Linked DNA regions of Homo sapiens: all the other regions are linked to region 6. The links are contacts of gene promoters, found by promoter capture Hi-C in blood cells and fetal thymus (Javierre and others, 2016). All regions are on one chromosome and are shown on one strand. The core of a region is centred on a gene start or on the middle of the fragment in contact, and the rest is flanking DNA. Distances in the headings are between cores, read along the strand shown.

What was found. Contacts are between HindIII fragments. The CHiCAGO score rates a contact against its expected background, and 5 or more counts as called.
Region 1: a fragment that was not itself captured here is called in contact with the fragment with the promoter of SNX14 in region 6 in 3 of 17 cell types (naive CD8 T cells, activated CD4 T cells and naive CD4 T cells); the score reaches 7.9 in naive CD8 T cells.
Region 2: a fragment that was not itself captured here is called in contact with the fragment with the promoter of SNX14 in region 6 in 2 of 17 cell types (activated CD4 T cells and monocytes); the score reaches 8.9 in activated CD4 T cells.
Region 3: a contact is called between a fragment that was not itself captured here and the fragment with the promoter of SNX14 in region 6, in 2 of 17 cell types (naive CD8 T cells and M0 macrophages). The highest score is 5.6, in naive CD8 T cells.
Region 4: a contact is called between a fragment that was not itself captured here and the fragment with the promoter of SNX14 in region 6, in 6 of 17 cell types (non-activated CD4 T cells, activated CD4 T cells, M2 macrophages and 3 more). The highest score is 12.1, in non-activated CD4 T cells.
Region 5: a fragment that was not itself captured here is called in contact with the fragment with the promoter of SNX14 in region 6 in 1 of 17 cell types (monocytes); the score reaches 5.5 in monocytes.
Region 7: a fragment that was not itself captured here is called in contact with the fragment with the promoter of SNX14 in region 6 in 5 of 17 cell types (total B cells, naive CD8 T cells, total CD8 T cells and 2 more); the score reaches 7.7 in total B cells.

Annotation. Positions count from the first base shown.
Region 1 is chr6:87,585,158-87,587,857 of GRCh38, forward strand. All of the region lies in intron 1 of RARS2 (arginyl-tRNA synthetase 2, mitochondrial), which reads right to left. Among named protein-coding and RNA genes, the nearest start is that of RARS2, 3.5 kb to the right of the region's middle. The HindIII fragment of the contact is 2,536 bases long and covers 149-2,684 here.
Region 2 is chr6:87,535,929-87,538,628 of GRCh38, forward strand. All of the region lies in intron 8 of RARS2 (arginyl-tRNA synthetase 2, mitochondrial), which reads right to left. Among named protein-coding and RNA genes, the nearest start is that of RARS2, 53 kb to the right of the region's middle. The HindIII fragment of the contact is 1,001 bases long and covers 786-1,786 here.
Region 3 is chr6:87,512,441-87,515,291 of GRCh38, forward strand. RARS2 (arginyl-tRNA synthetase 2, mitochondrial) reads right to left here. Exons shown (of 20, transcript NM_020320.5): 19 at 2,517-2,580; 20 at 1,498-2,059. The coding sequence ends at 1,973. Among named protein-coding and RNA genes, the nearest start is that of SLC35A1, 41 kb to the left of the region's middle. The HindIII fragment of the contact is 2,274 bases long and covers 465-2,738 here.
Region 4 is chr6:87,485,449-87,488,148 of GRCh38, forward strand. All of the region lies in intron 2 of SLC35A1 (solute carrier family 35 member A1), which reads left to right. Among named protein-coding and RNA genes, the nearest start is that of SLC35A1, 14 kb to the left of the region's middle. The HindIII fragment of the contact is 1,494 bases long and covers 644-2,137 here.
Region 5 is chr6:87,462,333-87,465,032 of GRCh38, forward strand. It overlaps CFAP206 (cilia and flagella associated protein 206), which reads left to right. Exons shown (of 13, transcript NM_001031743.3): 13 at 1,688-2,133. The coding sequence ends at 1,918. Among named protein-coding and RNA genes, the nearest start is that of SLC35A1, 9.3 kb to the right of the region's middle. The HindIII fragment of the contact is 3,443 bases long and covers 1-2,700 here.
Region 6 is chr6:85,592,339-85,595,200 of GRCh38, forward strand. SNX14 (sorting nexin 14) reads right to left here and starts at 1,520. Exons shown (of 29, transcript NM_153816.6): 1 at 1,241-1,520. The coding sequence starts at 1,380. RefSeq lists enhancers at 11-596, 597-1,180, 1,181-1,764, 1,213-1,382, 1,693-1,812 and a silencer at 1,443-1,662. The HindIII fragment of the contact is 2,215 bases long and covers 783-2,862 here.
Region 7 is chr6:87,411,183-87,413,882 of GRCh38, forward strand. It overlaps CFAP206 (cilia and flagella associated protein 206), which reads left to right. Exons shown (of 13, transcript NM_001031743.3): 4 at 2,628-2,700. Among named protein-coding and RNA genes, the nearest start is that of CFAP206, 4.6 kb to the left of the region's middle. The HindIII fragment of the contact is 1,103 bases long and covers 768-1,870 here.

The sequences.
Region 1 (2,700 bases), core at 167-2,666, 2.0 Mb after region 6:
TCATTCAGTGAAGCTGCATATTTTATATGAGATCACAACAGAGATACTCAGGTATTCATTCTTCAAATACACATTAAACACTTATGTTTCGGGCACTTTGCTGGTGCTGAGGAAATAAGAGTGAATAAGACATGTTCTGTCTTCATGAAGCTTATAGAGGAAACAGACACTAAAACAAGTAAAACAAAACAATTACTCTTATTATTGTCATCATAGAAGCAAACAAGGGACTAAGAGAACTAGAGGACACACTTTTCAAATTATAGGTTGCCAGTTAGAAATAAATTCCTTTGCCTGGCGCGGTGGCTCACGCCTGTAATCCCGGCACTTTGGGAGGCTGAGATGGGTGGATCATGAGGTCAGGAGATCGAGACCATCCTGGCTAACACGGTGAAACCCCGTCTCTACTAAAAATACAAAAAAATTTAGCCGGGTGTGGTGGCGGGCACCTGTAGTCCCAGCTACTCGGGAGGCTGAGGTGGGAGAATGGCGTGAACCCAGGAGGCGGAGCTTGCAGTGAGCAGAGATCACGCCATTGCACTCTAGCCCGGACGACTGAGCAAGACTCCATCTCAAAATAAATAAATAAATAAATAAAAATAAAAATAAATTCTGTTGAGTCCCAACCACCAGTCTTAAAAAATACGTATAAAACAGGACAGAATACAGTATAAATAAGTATTGTTTCATGAAACTTTCATCGTGCATAAAGAGTGATAGTATAAAATGCATTTCTTTTAGGCACAAGGAATAATCTACGCAATGGGAATGGAAAGACCCTGCTATGTTAGAAAAACAAATTAACATTGTAGCTAGGTTCCTACAAAAATGATAGAATGGGGCATGAATGGAAGTTGAAGAAGTTAAGGTTCTGGTAGAGACTCGTGCAACAAAGAAAGATAAGTGATATGATTTGATTCACAATTTAGATGTCACCTTTCTTGATACATGGAGAATGAACTGGAGGGAGGGCAAGAATGGAAACAAACACCCCATCAGAAGGCTGTTGTAAGCAGTCAATATAGGTGATAATGGGGGCTTGGTGTGGAATAGAGAAAGGAGAGGGGGAGGCAGCAGCAATAGTGTAGATGGATTCAAGATATAAAGATAAAATCAACAGGACTTGCTGAAGAAAGGAATCCAAATATTGTGATTCTATGTACATATCATGCTTTCCAGATGTCTGTGTCTATGCACATCCTCCTCTTGCAATACCTGACCTCTCCCCAAGCTCTCACTCTATTTACTTGGCACACTCCTACCCATATCCCTTTCAAAACTGAGACCTAACATCACCTTTCTACAAAACTTTGTCTGACCCTTAGGAGCTTTCAAGTTCCCTTGGCACTTTGCACATGCTTCTAATACAGTGATTACAGGCTGCAATGCAATTACCGGTTTACATCGTTTTCCAAGCATGTCTGAGGCCATTTCAGGGCAGAAACTATTTTCCGTTCACTTTTAGCCTTGGGACTGATGACAGTGCTTAGAAAACTGTCGACTAATTAATCAAAGTTAGCTAAATGCATTTGCCATTGCACGTTACACATTCCTTCATTCCTAAACTATTATAGCAAAACGATGCTCATTCGCAAAGGTATTAAATACAGGCTGGGTATCCTTGGGACCACAAGTGTTTCAACTTTTGAATTTTTTCAGATTTTGGAATATTGGCTTTATACTTACCTGTTGAGCATCCCTAAACTGAAAATCTGTGGGGTTGGTTATTTATTTATTTATTTATTTATTTATTTATTTATTTATTTTTTGAGACAGGGTCTTGCTTTACCACCCACGCTGGAGTTCAGTGGCACAATCTTGGCTCATTGCAACCTCCACCTCTCAGGTTCAAGTGATCCTTCCACCTCAGCCTCCCAAGTATCTGGGATTACAGGAGGGTGCCACCATGCCCAACTAATTTTCTAATTAGTTTCCCAGGCTGGTCTTGAACTCTTGGGCTCAAGTGATCTGCCTGTCTCAGTCTCTCCAAGTGCTGGGGTTATAGGCATGAGCCACCATACCCAGCTCCTAATCTGAAAATCTGGAATTCTCCAATGAACATTTCCAATTTCCAATTGAGCTCCAATGAACTCAATGAACATTGAGTCTCATGTCAGCACTCAAAAAGTTTCAAATTTTGGAGCATTTCAGATTTCCAGCTTAGGGATGCTCAAACTGTACGGAACATGTTTTTTCTTTGCTCTTTTTTCCCCATGTCCTAACGTATTGAAAATATTATTATTTATCCTCAAGTTTCAGATCATTCCCCAATGACTCTATATTCAGAGAAATACATATATATCTGCATAATTTACACTGCTGTATAAATCCATTAGATTCTGTTCAATGATTGGACTGTGCTTCTTGCTTTCACAAAGAGCACAGTATATAGGAAAGATCTAATTTTAAAGTTAGAGTTCTGTTCATAAACCAACTCTACAATGTATTGATGATGTGGCTTTGGGTAAGTTATTTAATCTCTGTGGATCTCAACTGACTCAATTATATAATAAGGTTAATACTTCTATATCACAGGGTTGCCATGAGCTTAAATGTGAATGTGTAGTAACTAGCACAAATATATACTCAATATATTAGTTCTTGTTTCTCCAACTTATCTTTTTCTTTTTTTTGAGACAGGGACTCACTTTGTCCCCCAGGCTGAAGTGCAGCGGTGCAATCAAAGCTTGCTAGTTTCAG
Region 2 (2,700 bases), core at 36-2,535, 1.9 Mb after region 6:
CCTGCCTCAGCCTCCCAAAGTGCTAGGATTGCAGGTGTGAGCCACTGCACCTGGCCTATGTAACCTTTTTTAATGTCAGTGCTAGGATACAGGCTAATCCATATTTTATTGGCATGATATTTATCTCTTATAAGAGGCTGCCCTTACATTTCATAAGAATGGCTATGGTTACAAAAGCCATATTAATAGGCAATATGCAATGAGTCAAGTTCTATTAATAAAACCTTCTATAGCAAAAAAAAAGGTTAATATGCTTAGAGATACTGTTAGATAATAAAGTCTATTCAAATAATTTAAATCTAAAAGGAAGCCTGATAAGTTACCTTTAAAAGTATTATTTAAATAGGTAAAAGTAAATGATGACACCCTCATATCCATGATTCAGATTTAACACTTGTTAACTTTTACCATAAGAAATTACTTTTTGCCTGGGCGTGGTGGCTCACACCTGTAATCCCAGCATTTTGTGAGGCCAAGGTGGGCGGATCACAAGGTCAGGAGTTTGAGACCAGCCTGGCCAACATGGTGAAACCCCGTCTCTAGCAAAAATACAAAAAAATTAGCTGGGCGTGGTAGTGCACACCTGTAATCCCAGCTACTCAGGAGGCTGAGGCAGGAGAATCATTTGAACCCGGGAGGCAGAGGTTGCAGTGAGCTGAGATCACGCCACTGCACTCCAGCCTGGGCAACAGGGCAAGACCCCATCACGAAAAAAAAAAAAAGAAAGAAAAAAAAAGAAATTACTTTTCAATATAAGTGGAAAGGCTTTTTGATATATTGTCTAAAGCTTATTGCAAATGTTTTCCTGAATCACTAATGTGAATTCTAAATAAAAAAAATATATTAGTTATTTAACAGCCAATTCACAAGGGAAGAGGAACTATAACAAAACTACTTCCCTGTTTTGTAACCAAAAAAACCAAATTAGAATAATTAAAGAAAAAGTTTCAAATGCTTGCCAACAAAATCCTAGGTCCCACGTACAAAACAGCTAGATGTCATGGGAAAAGAATGCTATAAGGTACAGAGAAAAACCACTAGTGAAGCATATGCACCAAAATGGAAATGCAATAAATGACTGTGGGTGTTAAATATTTTCATCAAAGAAATTCTGAAACTATCATACAATATCATTTCCAAGCTAGCTGAGAAACTGAATATACTAATACTGATTATAGTGCAATTTAGAGAATACTGATCATAGTTCAATTTAGAGGAAGGCAGGCCATAAAATCTGCTACTGGATGGCCTATGCCAAATTCAAAACAAATATGCCAGAAGGTTGAAAGTGCCAAAACTAAACTACTAATTGTGTCCCTGGTATAGCAACTCAAGGGATGAAAGAAAGGAAAATTCTATGTACATAATTAAACCAATGGAAATCAATGGTTCATAAAGCCATTCTATAGTGGGGGTGTGGGGACATTCACTGCATAGAGCACTCAGGAGCCAGACTACCTGTGCCGGAATCCTGGGTTTGGCCTGTGGTTTCCTCTGCAGTAAACTATGTTAACAAAGTAAGTTAAATTCTGACAAATGGTAATTAGTGTATCCTATAATAGTTACTTATTTCCTGGACAAACAATACATTTTATATTCCACAAATTATATATAATTAGAAAAGGGGGCAAAAGAGAACTATAAAAGCAAATTCATTCAGGCATTTACTGCAAGCCATAATATTTAGGGTTGTGGATAAGGAAGGTAAGGAAGACATGGTCCTTCCTCTCAAAGAGCTCACTACTAACTACAACTTGATATGGAAAAAAAACAAGGGTTCCATCAAAGCTTTGAGAAAACAGATTTTCACAAATAAGAAAGAGTAAATGCAGATTATCTTAAAGTTTTCCTTCGAATAAATCAGCCAACATTATTTACCAATACACCAAGCACTTTCCAAGCATAGAATCACGATCTCTGACTTTCTGGTCACCTTTCTGGTGACCAGAAATAACGATGGGGCAGAGTCTCTGTATTACCACCTACGCTATTTGTGACATTGCAGGGCAAGCAAAGGCATCTTTCAATTATTAAATAAATTGAGTTGTTGACATTCAGATTTTCTTTTAGAAACAGAATAACATCAACATTTGCTTAAAGCTCAAAAAAATTCCTCATTTATGCTAACAGTTGTTTTTGAAAGTAATCCAAAGTGACAAATGTAATTTTAAAATGAAAACAGAGTCTATAAAATTTGCATATATAATAACCTGTAGGCTGCCATTTTAGGCTTTGCATATTTTCTGTCCTGCAAAAGGAGAAGGAAAAGAGCAACTGAATACTCTAATGGTCTTGTCGTCTATTACAAATAGCAAAGTGGGTGTATCTTGCCTTCTTTTGTCTTTAAATGCAGTTTCCCAGTGAATCTATTCGGCAAAAGAACACTAATGAAAGCAACACCATTATTATTCGACTTTTTAGTTATTCACAGAAGTACCTTATTGCCCTTATTCCTTCCATATGTGTACCCATCAGTAAATAACCTCTAACATAGATGTTGATCTTCCACTATTTTTGAGTCTCTAAAGGCAGGAAATTATATTAAACTGCATAGAAAGAAATATATTCTTAGGTTTCTGTGGAGTTTGAAGACAGATTCCCCTGAAATATTTAAAATATTGTACAGCCTCAGCAACAGTGAGACTTCACCTCCACAAAAAAACCCACAAAACCTACACCTATATATGGCTAGGCACAGTG
Region 3 (2,851 bases), core at 352-2,851, 1.9 Mb after region 6:
CGGTTAGGGTTCTCTGGCTGCAAATCAACTCAACTCTGGCAAGCCTTAAGCAAAAAAGAAAGAATTTTTAAGAAGGTCCACAATCAGGGCTACAGGCGTCTAGGTTCTAAGAATTAATGGACAGTTGTCTTTTCAGCTTTTGTAAAGATCTGGCTTTACCTATTACTGTTCCTGTATGGTTTCACTCACGATTCAAATACTCGGGAAGACACTACTGATCTTGGAAGGGGAAAGTTTCTTCAAACAAGTAGAGAGGGATATTGGATGTGTAAAACATGTCCCTACTTTATATTTTTATCCCATGGCTGGTTTATGCTAAGAAAAATGTGACACTACTTTAAGTCGAAAATTAGCTATCTGGGAGCTAATTCACTTAAATTGGAACTGCAAGGCTGAATCTTTTCTAGGACTAAGAAGGTAAGCCATAGTTGCTAATATGAAACAATTTTCACTCTAACTAGAGAAGCTTCAGTTGTGCTAACTTGGTAAATAGACCGTCACTGGTATTCAAAAGCCTACTATTAGCAACATTTAGAATAAATTATAGCAGACCTGAATGGAAATGCTGGCTGATGGGAATGGCCGTACTGATCAAACACATCACATCCTACTCTTGTTTCCTAAGCCATGCTCATGTTATCTAATGAAGCCACACAAAAATATGAAGATAGATACATGAAGGAAACCATAAGAAACTCCATTTCAAATTATGGTTGAATTAATGGACTACATTTTACAAAAAGATCCTAATTCAACGTCTTTACAAGTAATTCCTTCCTATTAAAATGTATTTAGTTCCTGAATTCACACAATAAGAGTTACCTGTGTGTGTGTGTGTATATATATATATATATATATATATATTTTTTATTTATTTTTTTTGAGACAGAATCTCGCCCTGTCGCTCAGGCTGGAGTGCAGTGGTGCGATCTCGGCTCACTGCAAGTTCCGCCTCCTGGGTTCACGCCATTCTCCTGCCTTAGCCTCCCGAGTAACTGGGACTACAGGCCCCGCCACCACGCCTGGCTACTTTTTTTGTATTTTTAGTAGATACGGGGTTTCACCGTGTTAGCCAGGATGGTCTCGATCTACTGATCTCGTGATTTGCCCGCCGCAGCCTCCCAAAGTGCTGGGATTATAGGCATGAGCCACCACGCCCAGCCCTGTATATATTAACTCAAAGGGAAGCACGAGGTCTATTGTCTCTAGGAGTAGCTGTCAGCTATATTGACAGAACGGTGCTTATTTTTGATCTCCCTATGTTTACTCCAAACTAGCCACAATTACAAGAAAATTGATAATATTTTCCCCTCACCAATTCTTTTATTTCATGAAAACATTAAATCATTTCAGTTATAAGAATAGTTTCTGGAAGAATGACATGGTAAGAAACTTCAAGCCAAAGTTTAAACTCAAATCCTTTAGCCCCATTAGACCACAATGCTTTGGGTTTAAAAAACTCAATGTCTATTTAAATACCTACTGACCATGAGAGAATTCAGATAACTCATTTATTTAAGGATAAAGACTGAATAACTTGACAAGTCACATTTAATACAGATTCTGACACAGAATAATAGTTTAACTTTGGCTGGGCGTGGTGGTTCATGCCTCTAATCCCAACACTTTGGGAGGCCAAGGCAGACAGATAACCTGAGGTCGGGAGTGCAAGACCAGCCTGACCAACATAGAGAAACCCTGTCTCTACTAAAAATACAAAATTAGCCTGGCGTGATGGCACGTGCCTGTAATCCCAGCTACTCAGGAGGCTGAGGCAGGAGAATTGCTTGAACCTGGGAGGTGGAGGTTGCAGTGAGCCAACATCACACCATTGCACTCCAGCCTGGGCAACAAGAGCGAAACTCCATCTCAAAAAAAAAAAAAAAAAATTTAAATTTATTCTGAACAGCAAGGCATCTCAGAATAGATAACTAGAATTCACTTGACATTTTAAAAGCCATTTTAATGGAAATTACATCCTACATACAGGTGTTATTCCAAGAAGTTTCATTCCATTGGCTAGGACAGAACGGACAGCTTTGAAAAGATGAAGTCTGGCCTACAAAATAAATCAAAGAATGATTTAAAATATTCAGTAACAGGAATGTATTCAATACATGAGAATGGTTTTAAAGGTTATTCTTTCTAGTTTAAAGCAGGAACAATATGTCAAAGTGCCCTAGAGTTACTATAGGCAAGAGAAGATAAATTCCTGGCATCCCTTACAGTAAAACCTGTACATAAAGTGTCATGGAGTGGGAGTGATAGTATTATACAGTATGGCTTCAGATAAGGGGAACTTATCACTGTAATATTTCATGTAGGAAAATGTGCTTTATAGTCTAGTATGTTGGGAAGTATATACACATTGATTGTTACAGCCTAATTATTAGCTAAGGAAGTATACTGCTACAGTTGAACAACAGAATGCTATTTTAGAAAAATTTACAAGACTGACTTAGTAATATTAGTCTCAGGAGCTAGGGATTATACAGAAAACATTCAACATAACGTACCCCAGCCACTTCAGGAGGACTATCTTTTATTTGTAGTGTTTTGTGTGCCACAGCTGCAAGATGACTGAAACAGGAAGAGAGAAATCACGATAGTACCAGCAGTAATTTCCTGTTGTAAGATATGAGCTTGATATCTAATCTTACTCCTTCAACTTAATAAAGCCCAGAACCATTAAAGGATGTATTCAAAATTGTGAAGTTGAAACTGGAATTCAAAACTCAAGCTTTAGATCTTGGCCCTATTCTACTACTAAGAGGTGGGCAATTCTTAAGATTATGATTTCGCAGGGCGCAGTGGCTCACGCCTGTAATCCCAGCACTTTGGGAGGCCGAGG
Region 4 (2,700 bases), core at 141-2,640, 1.9 Mb after region 6:
TCAGAGGAGAAAAATTAAGAAGAACTTAGATCTTGGCCAGGTGTGGTGGCTCACACCTGTAATCCCAGCAGTTTAGAGGCCAAGGTAGGAGGATTTCTTGAGCCCAGGAGTTGGAGACCAGCCTGTCAACATGGTGAGACTCCATCTCTACAAAAAATAAAAAAATTAGCTGGGTGTAGTGGTGTGTGGCTGTAGTCACAGCTACCTGGGAGGCTAAGGTGGGAGGATTGCTTGAGCCTGCGAGGACCTGCAGTGAGCCATGATTGTACCACTGTACTCTAGCCTGGGCAACAGAGCAAAACTCTGTCTCAGAAAAAGAAAAAAAAAAATTAGAAGAACTTAGATCCTGATGATTAAAATAGTGTATTTCCCCCATATTTCCAGAAAAATACTGCAGAGTTAGTGTAAAAATTAGTAACATTTGCTCAATGTTGATTTGAGTTTTCTGGAGAATGAATACAGGGAAAGGAAAAGAAATTACTATTTAAATGGAAAAAAATTAAACTTCATTTAAAACTATGATTAAATGAAGTAAAAGCTTCTTCCTTTTTGCCCATTCTTTACACTGTGATAAAGTACAATAACTTTATAGGGTTGATACAAAGTATTATACTAGAACTTCAATTTTTTTGGAACTGTGCAAAGCTTAATCTCATTATAGAGCAGTCCATTTGGTGGTTTGTTTATTTAGTATGGTCTCTGATGCTGTTTGCTCAGTAATGTTCTTTGCTTAGTGAATAGTCTTGGCTAATTGTTAAAGTACATATATTATACGGGAGTGGGAGGTGGGGGCAGAAACTTATCGAAGTAGCACCTGAAACCATGTTTTGGTTATAATTAAGGTTCACTTAGATAATAACATACCACTGCCATATTCAAATCTGTGTTTCATTCCTTCCAAACATTGGAAGCAAATAGTCATTCTAAGTTGTTTCAAGGTATTGTTAATAAGATATAATGGGACAGTCAGGTTCACGCATTCATTTATTTAGTTAGAAAATACCTATCAAACCTCAATTATATACTCAACACTATTCTAGTGTTTTCACTAGAACACTGCAAATTAAAAAGGTGTAGTTCTGCCCTCATGGACTTATAGTCTGTTGGAGAACCAAATATTATAATAAATAATAAATAGGTGATGTTATGAGGGAAAAGTAGAGGGTGCTACAAACATGCATGATAGAGGGCCTGCATTTGGATTAAAGGGTTTCCTCTCTGAGGAAGTTACGTTTAAACCTAGACCTGTCAATTGAGTAGACTTTAGGCAAGAAAAGAGCAGAGAGGAGGCAGAGAACTGCGTGTTTGAAATCCCTGAGGCAGAAAAGTCCTTGACTTTGGTGCTGAGATGAAGCAGGAGAGGTCATCAGGGTATCACAGTAGTAGTATGGACCTGTTAAGGATTTTAGATTTAATCTGAAGTGCATTAGAAAAATCATTGAGTGGAGCCAGGTGCGGTGGCTCACACCTATAATCTCAGCACTTTGGGAGGCTGAGGCAGGTGGATCACTTGAGGTCAGGAGTTCAAGACCAGCCTGGCCAACATGGTAAAACCCCATCTCTACTAAAAATACAAAAATTAGCTGGGCGTGGTGGCACATGCCTGTATTCTAGCTACTTGGGAGGCTGAGGCAGGAGAATTGCTTGAACTTGGGAGGCAGAGGTTGTAGTGAGCTGAGATCACACCACTGCACTCCAGCCTGGGTGACAGAGCAAGACTCCGTCTCAAAAGAAAAAAAAGAAAAAGAAAGTCATTAAATGGTTTAAGTGAGGGACTAACATAGAACCCATGTTGAGAGTCACTTTGACCTCTTTGAGAATGAATTAGAAGTAGGGAAACAATAGAGGCAAGAGATAATCAGCTAGGATGACAGCACAGGTCACGAAGAGAAGTTAATGGATTTGAGTTATGCTCTGGCAGTAGAATCTGTAGGACTTCGTGATGGGTTTGGATAACCTGCTCCTAGGGGATATACAGGGTAGTTTCCTGTGAGCAACTGATCACATTTTTGTCAATTAATCAATACAATAACCTTGTTTTGTGTGTGCTTCAATCTAAAGACACTTTATTTAATGTACATTATTGATTAATTAGCATTGAACTCATGGCCAACAGCACTATAACATGCCTGAACAAAGCTTATCTATCACATGTATTTTCTCCATAATATATAGCATATCCTTCTTATACTTAGGAACATCAGACAGTGCGTCAGCCCTACAATGCTTGGGAGCCATTTAAACAAAATCACCAACACAAAGCACAAAAATGCAAAAAATGTGGTACTGAATAGATTGCACTTGTTTATGATCTGAAAGCGGAAACAAGGCAGAATGTTAACTTGTTCAGCGTCAGCCAGGAATGTGCACACTTGGTGAATCAAATTTTTTGCCACTCTGCACATGTCTGCCAATGACTGCAAGTGTTACCAGCATTGATTTGGGGGTTACAGATACATTTTAATGAGTGGAGAATTCACACGTACAGTCCATGAATAATAATAATCAACTATAGTAGGGGAAGGAAAGGGAGGTATCAGGAAGCATATCTGTGTTTCCTAGTATAAACAATTGGGTAGAGTTATTATTATTTTTGTTTTTTGAAACAGGAAAAACAGATTTGGGGGAAAAAGATATCAACAGTTTGATTTTGGGTAGGTATAATTTAAAGTTTTTAATGTCTTGAGACATCCAAATGGG
Region 5 (2,700 bases), core at 47-2,546, 1.9 Mb after region 6:
ATATATCTTCCAGATCATTGTTCCATTAGTATTCCTTCCTATCAGTTACTCTCCTGTAGTTCATGAAATGCCCAACCCCCATATTATTTTCTATTATCTACTAAACTCACTTGAGTTCATTAGATTTATTGGGTAACATATATATCCCACTACTTTGTTCTAGCAAGTGATACTGTTACATTAAAAATATTTCAGTACCTCCTTGTAAGTGGTACCTCCTTGTAAGTGGTGTAACAGAAGTGAAATGAAAATTCTACTAAATTAACATAGGTGATATTTTATGTTGCTTTTGAGATACAAATAGGCAAAGAGGAGGAGGGAAGTGATGGCTGGATAGGATAGGAGAGATAGAGGTGACAGCATAGGTATGGACTGGAAATGTTAAGAGAATGGGGTATTCAGGGGTCTGAACTTCATACTGACTGAGCCCTCTCTTCCCATTCCTCAATCTCCACTTAATTCTGACTCTCACCTTGGGCCTTATTATTCCCTAGAACTGTATTATATTGAATGCCAGCTCCCCAAGTGTCACCTACCTAACCTGTGGATAAGACAAAGCTGAGTTTATTGCTTACAGCCATAAGGGAAAACACCACCTCAACAGTGCTTTGGCAGTGTCTCAGAAGAGGAACTGCAAAGTCAGAATTGATTGAGAATTTGAAGTTTGCTAAGGCAGGTCTTCCAATGACTGAGGTGGACTGGGGGTAGGATGGAGGTTTGAATCGGATTGGGTAAGGATCATGAAAAAGCAGTCCAGCATTGGTGGGAATAGCAAGAAGATTTTTTGAGGCAAGGGATGCAGACTCTTAGGACTGAAACTGTGTTTTGATGCTTACTACTGAAGAGTTGACACATCTCTCAGGTACTACTGAAATGAGCAATCAAGTTATTTGCTTAGGCAAGAGTCTCTTGGAATGGTAAAATCATGCTAATGAAGACAATGGAATAGTAAAGTCATATTAATGTGGACAATAACCTGGGTATTGGGGAGTAGTTTCGGTTCTCAGTCACCTGCAGTATCTCAAACTCTGAAATGTTTCCTCTAATTCCAGGTGTCACCTTCTTCACTCACATGCTATAATGCCTTTTGAGTTTTTTCTTGGCTTTTACTATAAGTGCAGCAACCTTATTCTTCTTTTTATAAGCTCCTCCTTGCTTCCCAGCCTGAGTAATCTGTTTAACCTCATGTTTACTAATAATCTATAAAGGGAGTAAGCAAAATGTAGAATACTGTAAAATACAAAATGGAAAGCATCAGACTCTTTTATGTTAAAAATCTAGGGTGAAGTCCATTTTTAAAAGATAATACTGTATAAATCTTATATTTTTGTTAAAAGAAAACAAGTATAGTGGAAAAATCCAAGTTATATGAATCTCAAAGTATAATAATGAAGGAATTAGATTATATTAATAAATAACTGGTTGAGTTCACTGTAATTTTGAATCTGTATGTTTTTTGAGGTCAATTTTCAACATTTTACATATTTTTCTACGTCTTGGTAAGGGATATTTAATTTTCTATTATGTTCTAGATTTTCCAATGTTTTATAGAAAAAATGCTATGTTATGGAATTAATTTCTTGTGGATTGAAGACAAAAATAGGCAGATATTAACTGGTATCTGATAATATTTTATGTTATTTGTTCTTTAGAGAAATGTTAATTCCTGTATTCTCTTTCTCTTTAGGCTAATTTGCGCCAGAAAGTTACTCACTCAGTACAAACTGATCTTAGTCACTTGAGAAGAGAAAATTGTTCCCAAGTGTACCCTCCAAAGGACACTAGCACCCAGTCCATGAGGGAAGACAGCACTGGGGTGCCCAGGCCTCAGATTTACTTGGCTGGTCTTCGTGGAGGAAAGAGCGAAATCACCGATGAGGTCAAGGTGAACTTAACTAGAGATGTGGATGAAACCTAATTACAGACAACGTTTTAAAATAGATGCTACTCAATTATGAACAATAGCAAGTACTTAAAGGTATATTAACATCTATACAAATTAATTTTGTAGGGGTGGCACATTCATTGGTTGTGTGACTGTTTATTGGGTTCCCATATTTTATCAAACTGTTTTCTGTAACACATTTTTCATTCTGTTGAAATTGAAAAATAAAACTGTCCATTTATCTTTTATTTGTTAGAAAAATTTGTCAGCATTAAGATTGAAATTATGATAACATTTAGATATAAATATAAGATTATTACTGGAATAGAAGTCTATTTCTAAACCATATTTAATGTTAAACGTTACAAACTTAAAACCTAATCAATATTTTCAGCTCTGTTAGCTATTAAATGTTAACATGGATTAAACTGATATGTAACAAAACCTTACTAATTTGGAACAATTGGAGCAAAGGTCCACATGATGTTTTTTTCTTTCTTTTTTTTTTTTTTTTTTTTTTGAGACAGGGTTTTGCTCTGTCACCTAGGCTGGAATGTAGTGGTACAATCACAGCTCACTGCAGCCTCGACCTCCTGGGCTAAAGCAATCCTACCTTAGCCTCCTGAGTAGCTGGGACCACAGGCGTGTGTTACCACACCTGACTAATTTTTAAAACAATTTTCTGTAGAGACAGAGTTTCACCATATTCCCCTGGCGGGTCTGGAACTCCTGGGCTCAAGAGATCCTTTTGCCTCAGCCTCCCAAAGTGATGGGATTATAGGCATAAGCCACCATGCCCACCTCACATGGTGTTT
Region 6 (2,862 bases), core at 270-2,769:
AATTCCTTGCGCATTCCTCCCTGTTGCTATCCTTGGGAATCAACTACCTTAAGATAAAGAGTAAGAATGGTTGCCTGTTCAAAACATCAGAGAAAACAGCTTGCGGATGCTGTCAATGAGAACTATCTCAGATTTCTTTCCACCAAAAGCAAATCTGGTGTTAATTTTAATGGAAAAGTCTCCTCTACTACCTATTGCATCGCAACAATTTCTTGAAATAGTAAAATGAAGTAAAACAAGTTTATTTCGGGGGCAGAATCTTCTGATTTCAAAATGTCAATTGAATTTATCAATTTTAACCTTTCGGAATATTTCAGGTTTTTTTGGGGAGGGTGGCATCAAGTCCTCTTAAGAATATTATAGGGATGTGGCCGGGTGCGGTGGCTCACGCCTGTAATCCCAGCACTTCGGGAGGCCGAGGCAGGCGGCTCACGAGGTCAGGAGATCGAGACCATCCTGGCTAAAACGGTGAAACCCCGTCTCTACTAAAAAAAAAAAAAAAAAATACAAAAAAATTAGCGTGGTAGCGTGGTGGCGTGGTGGCGGGCGCCTGTAGCCCCAGCTACTCGGGAGGCTGAGGCAGGAGAATGGCGTGAACCCGGGAGGAGGAGCTTGCGGTGAGCCGAGACCGCACCACTGCACTCCAGCCTGGGTGACAGAGCGAGACTCCGTCTCAAAAATAAAAAATTCTAAGGATGTTGGGACGGGTACCACTTTGCTTTCTGATTTCTGTCCAACAAATCTTTATGATCGTCTGTTTTATTCAACAATACTGCGGGAAAAGCTTCAGCTGCAAGCTGAGGGGGTGGGAGGTGGGGAGATGGAAGAACGCGCTGCAGGTGTGCGGATTCTGCCTAAAATTGCGGCTACGAACTGGACCTTGAACACTCCTCCGTCAGCTGACTTGACTGCCTGTGTACAGTCTCAATTTGAGCCGACACACGGATTTCACTTTTGAAAAGCAACGAAGATGAAGAACTCGTTTTGAGAAATGGATGAGAAAAAGGTAGCTCAGGAGACGAAGCCTCGGGAAAGGAGGCAATCAACCCCACCCCACCGGCCTGTGCTTCCGGCCTCGACGCTCCGCCGTGCTCCCCGAGGCCGCTCCTCTGCGGAGCTCGCTCTCCCCACTGGTCCCCAGTCCCGCAGCTACGCGGCCTCCGCACGGTTAAGCAGCACGGGCCGGGCGTCTGCACCTTCGGAGAAAAGCCGCCGCCCAGGCTCCGCGCTGCGGCGTTACCTGTTAAGAAGCAGGGAGGCGGCGCTGAGACAGAGCAGCAGGAAGCAGAACAGCGGGTACTGGCGGCAGATCTCGCGTCCCACGTCCAGTCGCAGCCGCTGCTTCAGCTTCTGCCCCATCGTCCGCACCCAGGGCACCATCTCCGTAACGGCGAGGCCGAGACTGCGCTACTGGCTGAGGCAGAGGTCAAGGCGACCCCCCATCCACACCTCGCGTCCCCGCCCCACCGACTTGGCGGCGCACACAGACGCCTACCGGCAGTTAGCCGCCGCAGGCTGAGGTCGCGTCCGGCTGGGCCCAGCCCCACGCCCCCCGCCGCGCGTGCGCGGCCGCGGTCCCCAGCCGACCAGAGGAACGGCCGTAGAACGTGCCCGAAGTCGTCACCCAGCGCAAAGCCTCTAGCGTCTCGCCGCTCCGCCCTCCTGGCCGGAGTAGCGCGCAGTCTTCCGTGGAAACTCTGACAACACTGGCGACCGGCCATTTCCGGAAATCAAAGGACAGCCCCAGCACCCAGTAACTGCCTGTATTGCGGAGGAGAGGGAAGAAGGTTGTAGGGAGCCCGGAAGAAACTACAGCACCCCCGTAGCCGCCGGGCGCTGCCTGAGGGGCAACCGGAGCTCGTGGAGCCCGCTGGGAACTGTAGTCTTCGTGACACGAACCCGCAGAGGGATGGAGCGGGTGGTAGCGCTTCCCCGACCCCGCAACGCTCCGCGCCTCACCGTACACTCGGCTCCGGGTGGGAGCAGGTCCGAGCTTTGCGTGACGCCTAAGGGAGAGGGGGATAGGAGGACGCCTTTGAGTCGGTATTTTAAAAGGGGTGTGTTGGGGGCTGGGGGGGTGGCGAGTAAAACAGCCCTAGAATAAAGACTACAACTCATCAGGCCGCCACCCCACCAACAAAATCTCTTTTGCGCGCTCACGGGCAAGGGTAGAGCTCAATTCACGCCGGCTCCGGGAGCCCAACCAAAATCCGAGTGCTTGGAAGAGGCAGGTTGGCAGATTAGGTAAAATCCCTCTTATAGAGTCTCATGGGGTTTTCCCTTTACTAATTCATCACATTTCTAAATTTTTTTTTCTGTATTGTCCGCTACAGTGAGAGATGCAGGAAGACTATTATCGCGAAAATTTACTTAGGCGGTACAGACACTAAGCACTTTCATTTGACCTTCATGCATTCACCCCATGGTGTAGGTACAGTACTATAGTTTCAATCATTATACAGGCAAATTACTGAGACAGAAAGGAACTTAGGATCATAAAACTAACAAAGCCGGAATTTGAACACGTTCTAAAGACAGAGCCTGTGCCTGTCATCTCTCTTTCCTAGGATCTTATCCTTCAAAGTGGGGAAACAAATGTTTTTTAATGATGTATGTAGTTTCATGAATATTTTCCCGTATTACAAAAACATGGATCTTTAATGATGCATTATTATCCTTTATCAGAATGTACCATCCTGTTCCATTATTGCTAACCACTAAAGTCCATTGATATTACCATCCTTGATGATAAACCTATGCACATTTCTAATTATTTAGAATCAACTTTAATACAATTACTGGGTCAAAGGGTAAAAACAAACATTCTTGATACAGTCAAACTGCTTTGTAGAATGGTGGTAC
Region 7 (2,700 bases), core at 69-2,568, 1.8 Mb after region 6:
GTGAAACCTTGTTACTAATGTCTTACATTGCAAACATTAACTAGTTCGTCATATACTGTGAAGTTAAATAGAACTAAATTAATTTGCATTTCTCTAATGCTGAGTGATGTTGAGCATTTTTTTCATGCTTTTTGGCGATTTGTATGTCTTCTTTTGAAAAATATCTATTCATGGCCTTTGCCCACTTTATAATGGGGTTATTTGTTGTTGTCGAGTTGTTTGAGTTCCTCGTAGATCCTGAATATTAGTCCTTTGTCAGATGCATAGTTTGTACATATTTTCTCCCATTCTGCAGGCTGTCTTTTCACTCTGTTGATTATTCATTTTGATGTGTAGAAGCTTTTTAGTTTATTTAAATCCAATTTGTCTATTTCTGTTGCATTTACTTTTAAGTCATGAATTCTTTGCGTAGGCCAATGCCCAGCCCCCTAGGTTTTTTTCTGTTATTTTTATAGTTTCAGGTCTTACATTTAAGTCTTTAATCAATCTTGAGTTGTTAATTTTTGTATATGGTGAGACATTGGGATGGGTTTCATTCTTCTGCATATGGTAATCCAATTTTCCCAGCACCATTTATTGAATAGGATGTCATTTCTCCAGTGTATGTTTCTGTTGACTTTGTCAAAGATCACCTGACTGCAGGTATGTGGCTTTGTGTCTGGATTTTCTATTCTGACAATGAGATACAATCTTACACCAGTTAGAATATCTTTAAAAAGTAAAAACATAACAGATATTGGTGAGGATGCAGAGAAAAGATGGTATAAAGCTTGTTCTTAGCAATAGGGGAAGTGATTGTGGCAGTCAGAAATTTTATTGGAAAGCCGTGGAAGAGAATCCAGGAGGGGCAGAAAATAAGTTGTTCTCCTTGTCATGACCCAAGAAGAGTTTTCCATTCCCCCCAATTCCCCAACTCAACTAAGTTGGAAAGAATCAAGCCAATATACTTTTAGTACGACAGGTACATAAACTAACAACATATGTTATATTCAAGTGACAATTTTTTTCTCAACTAAAAATCATGTGGATGAGCTATTTTTTTAAGTGTGCATTTTAGAACAGTACTTCTGTATGTGGAGGGATCCAGGTGCACAGGCTTCTGCAAAGACATAGTGTCCAATCCTCAGTCTTGCATTCTCCCCTCCCTCCTCCCAGGAAAGCAGGGCTGGTGCTCAGGGAGATGGGTTGAGAGTGATGCTGCCAAGTGCCTGCCAGCTGCAGTATATTCAGCCTACAGAGTGAGCAGTGAAGGAAGTGGGGGAGGGAGGTGACCAGTAGAGATGAGAGAAGGAAAGAAAAACTGAGGTTGATATTCAATATAAAGAGGCAAGGCAGAGAAGGGGAATGAGCCATCTATGTGGGGGCTCATAGGAGAAAACAGACCAGGAGAAGAAATATCAAGGGTAGAACCAGAGAAATTTTGTGAAGAGAGGGGGGTGGTTGCAGCAGCTTTTTAATTTTAATTTAATTTAATTTAATTATATTTTATTTTTTGAGACAGAGTCTCGCTCTGTCCCCCAAGCTGGGGTGCGGTGGCATGATCTTGGCTCATTGCCATGTCCACCTCCCGGGTTCTCAAGCGATTCTCCTGTCTCAGCCTCCCGAGTAGCTGGGACTACAGGTGTGTGCCACCATGCCTGGCTAATTGTTGTATTTTTAGTAGAGACGGGTTTCACCATGTTGACCAGGCTGGTCTCGAACTCCTGACATCGGGTGATCTGCCCACCTCTGCCTCCCAAAATGCTGGGATTACGGGTGTGAGCCACTGCACCAGCTGCAGCAGCTTTTTATAAAATAAAATGAGGAGTGTTGTTCAAGGCACAAATAAATAGTAATGAGGAACTCTAGAAGAGTTTTAGACTGGAATATAAGCTTTGTGGAACATTTACCCACATTTAGACTGCTCAAACTAACCAAAACATCAGGTTTCTTGCCTTCAACTAGACTACTAGCCACCTGGCATGATGATTATTGGTTAACTCAAGGGAAATAACTTATTACTTAACAAATGTTATTGGTAGTAAAGATATGGAATCAACCTAAGTGTCCATCAACAGATGATTGGATAAAGAAAATGTATACACACATACACACAATGGAGTTTTATTGAGCCATAAAAAATAATGAAATCATGTCTTGTGGCAACATGGATGGAACTGGAGGCTACTATCTTAAGTGAAATAACTCAGAAAGTAAAATACCACATGTTCTCACTTATAAGTGGGAGCTCAATAATATGTACCCAGGGACATAGAGAGTGGAACAGTAGACATTGAAGACTTGGGAGGGTGAGAGGGGAGCGAGGGATAAGAAATCACTTAATGGGTACAATGTCCACTATTCAGGTGTTAGCTACCCTAAAAGCCCAGGCTTCACCACTACACGCAATATATCCATGTAACAAAATGACACTTGTACCCCCTAAATCTATAAAAATAAAAAAAGTTATTGGTTAAATAAACTATAAAGCCTGAAGTCCTCAAGGAGAAAAAAAAAATAAAAGGGGTTATTGGTGAATCAATATCAGGAACCACTGCTTTTCCCTTTATTTTTGAAAATAACTTTAGGAAATACTTGACTGTCTCAAAAACTATAACTAGAAGTATTCATGGGACATTCTTTTCTAGCTTTGTATGACTCGGCTATTGGATACTAAAAATCCATCCCTGGACACTATTAAGATGCAAGTCTACTTCGATA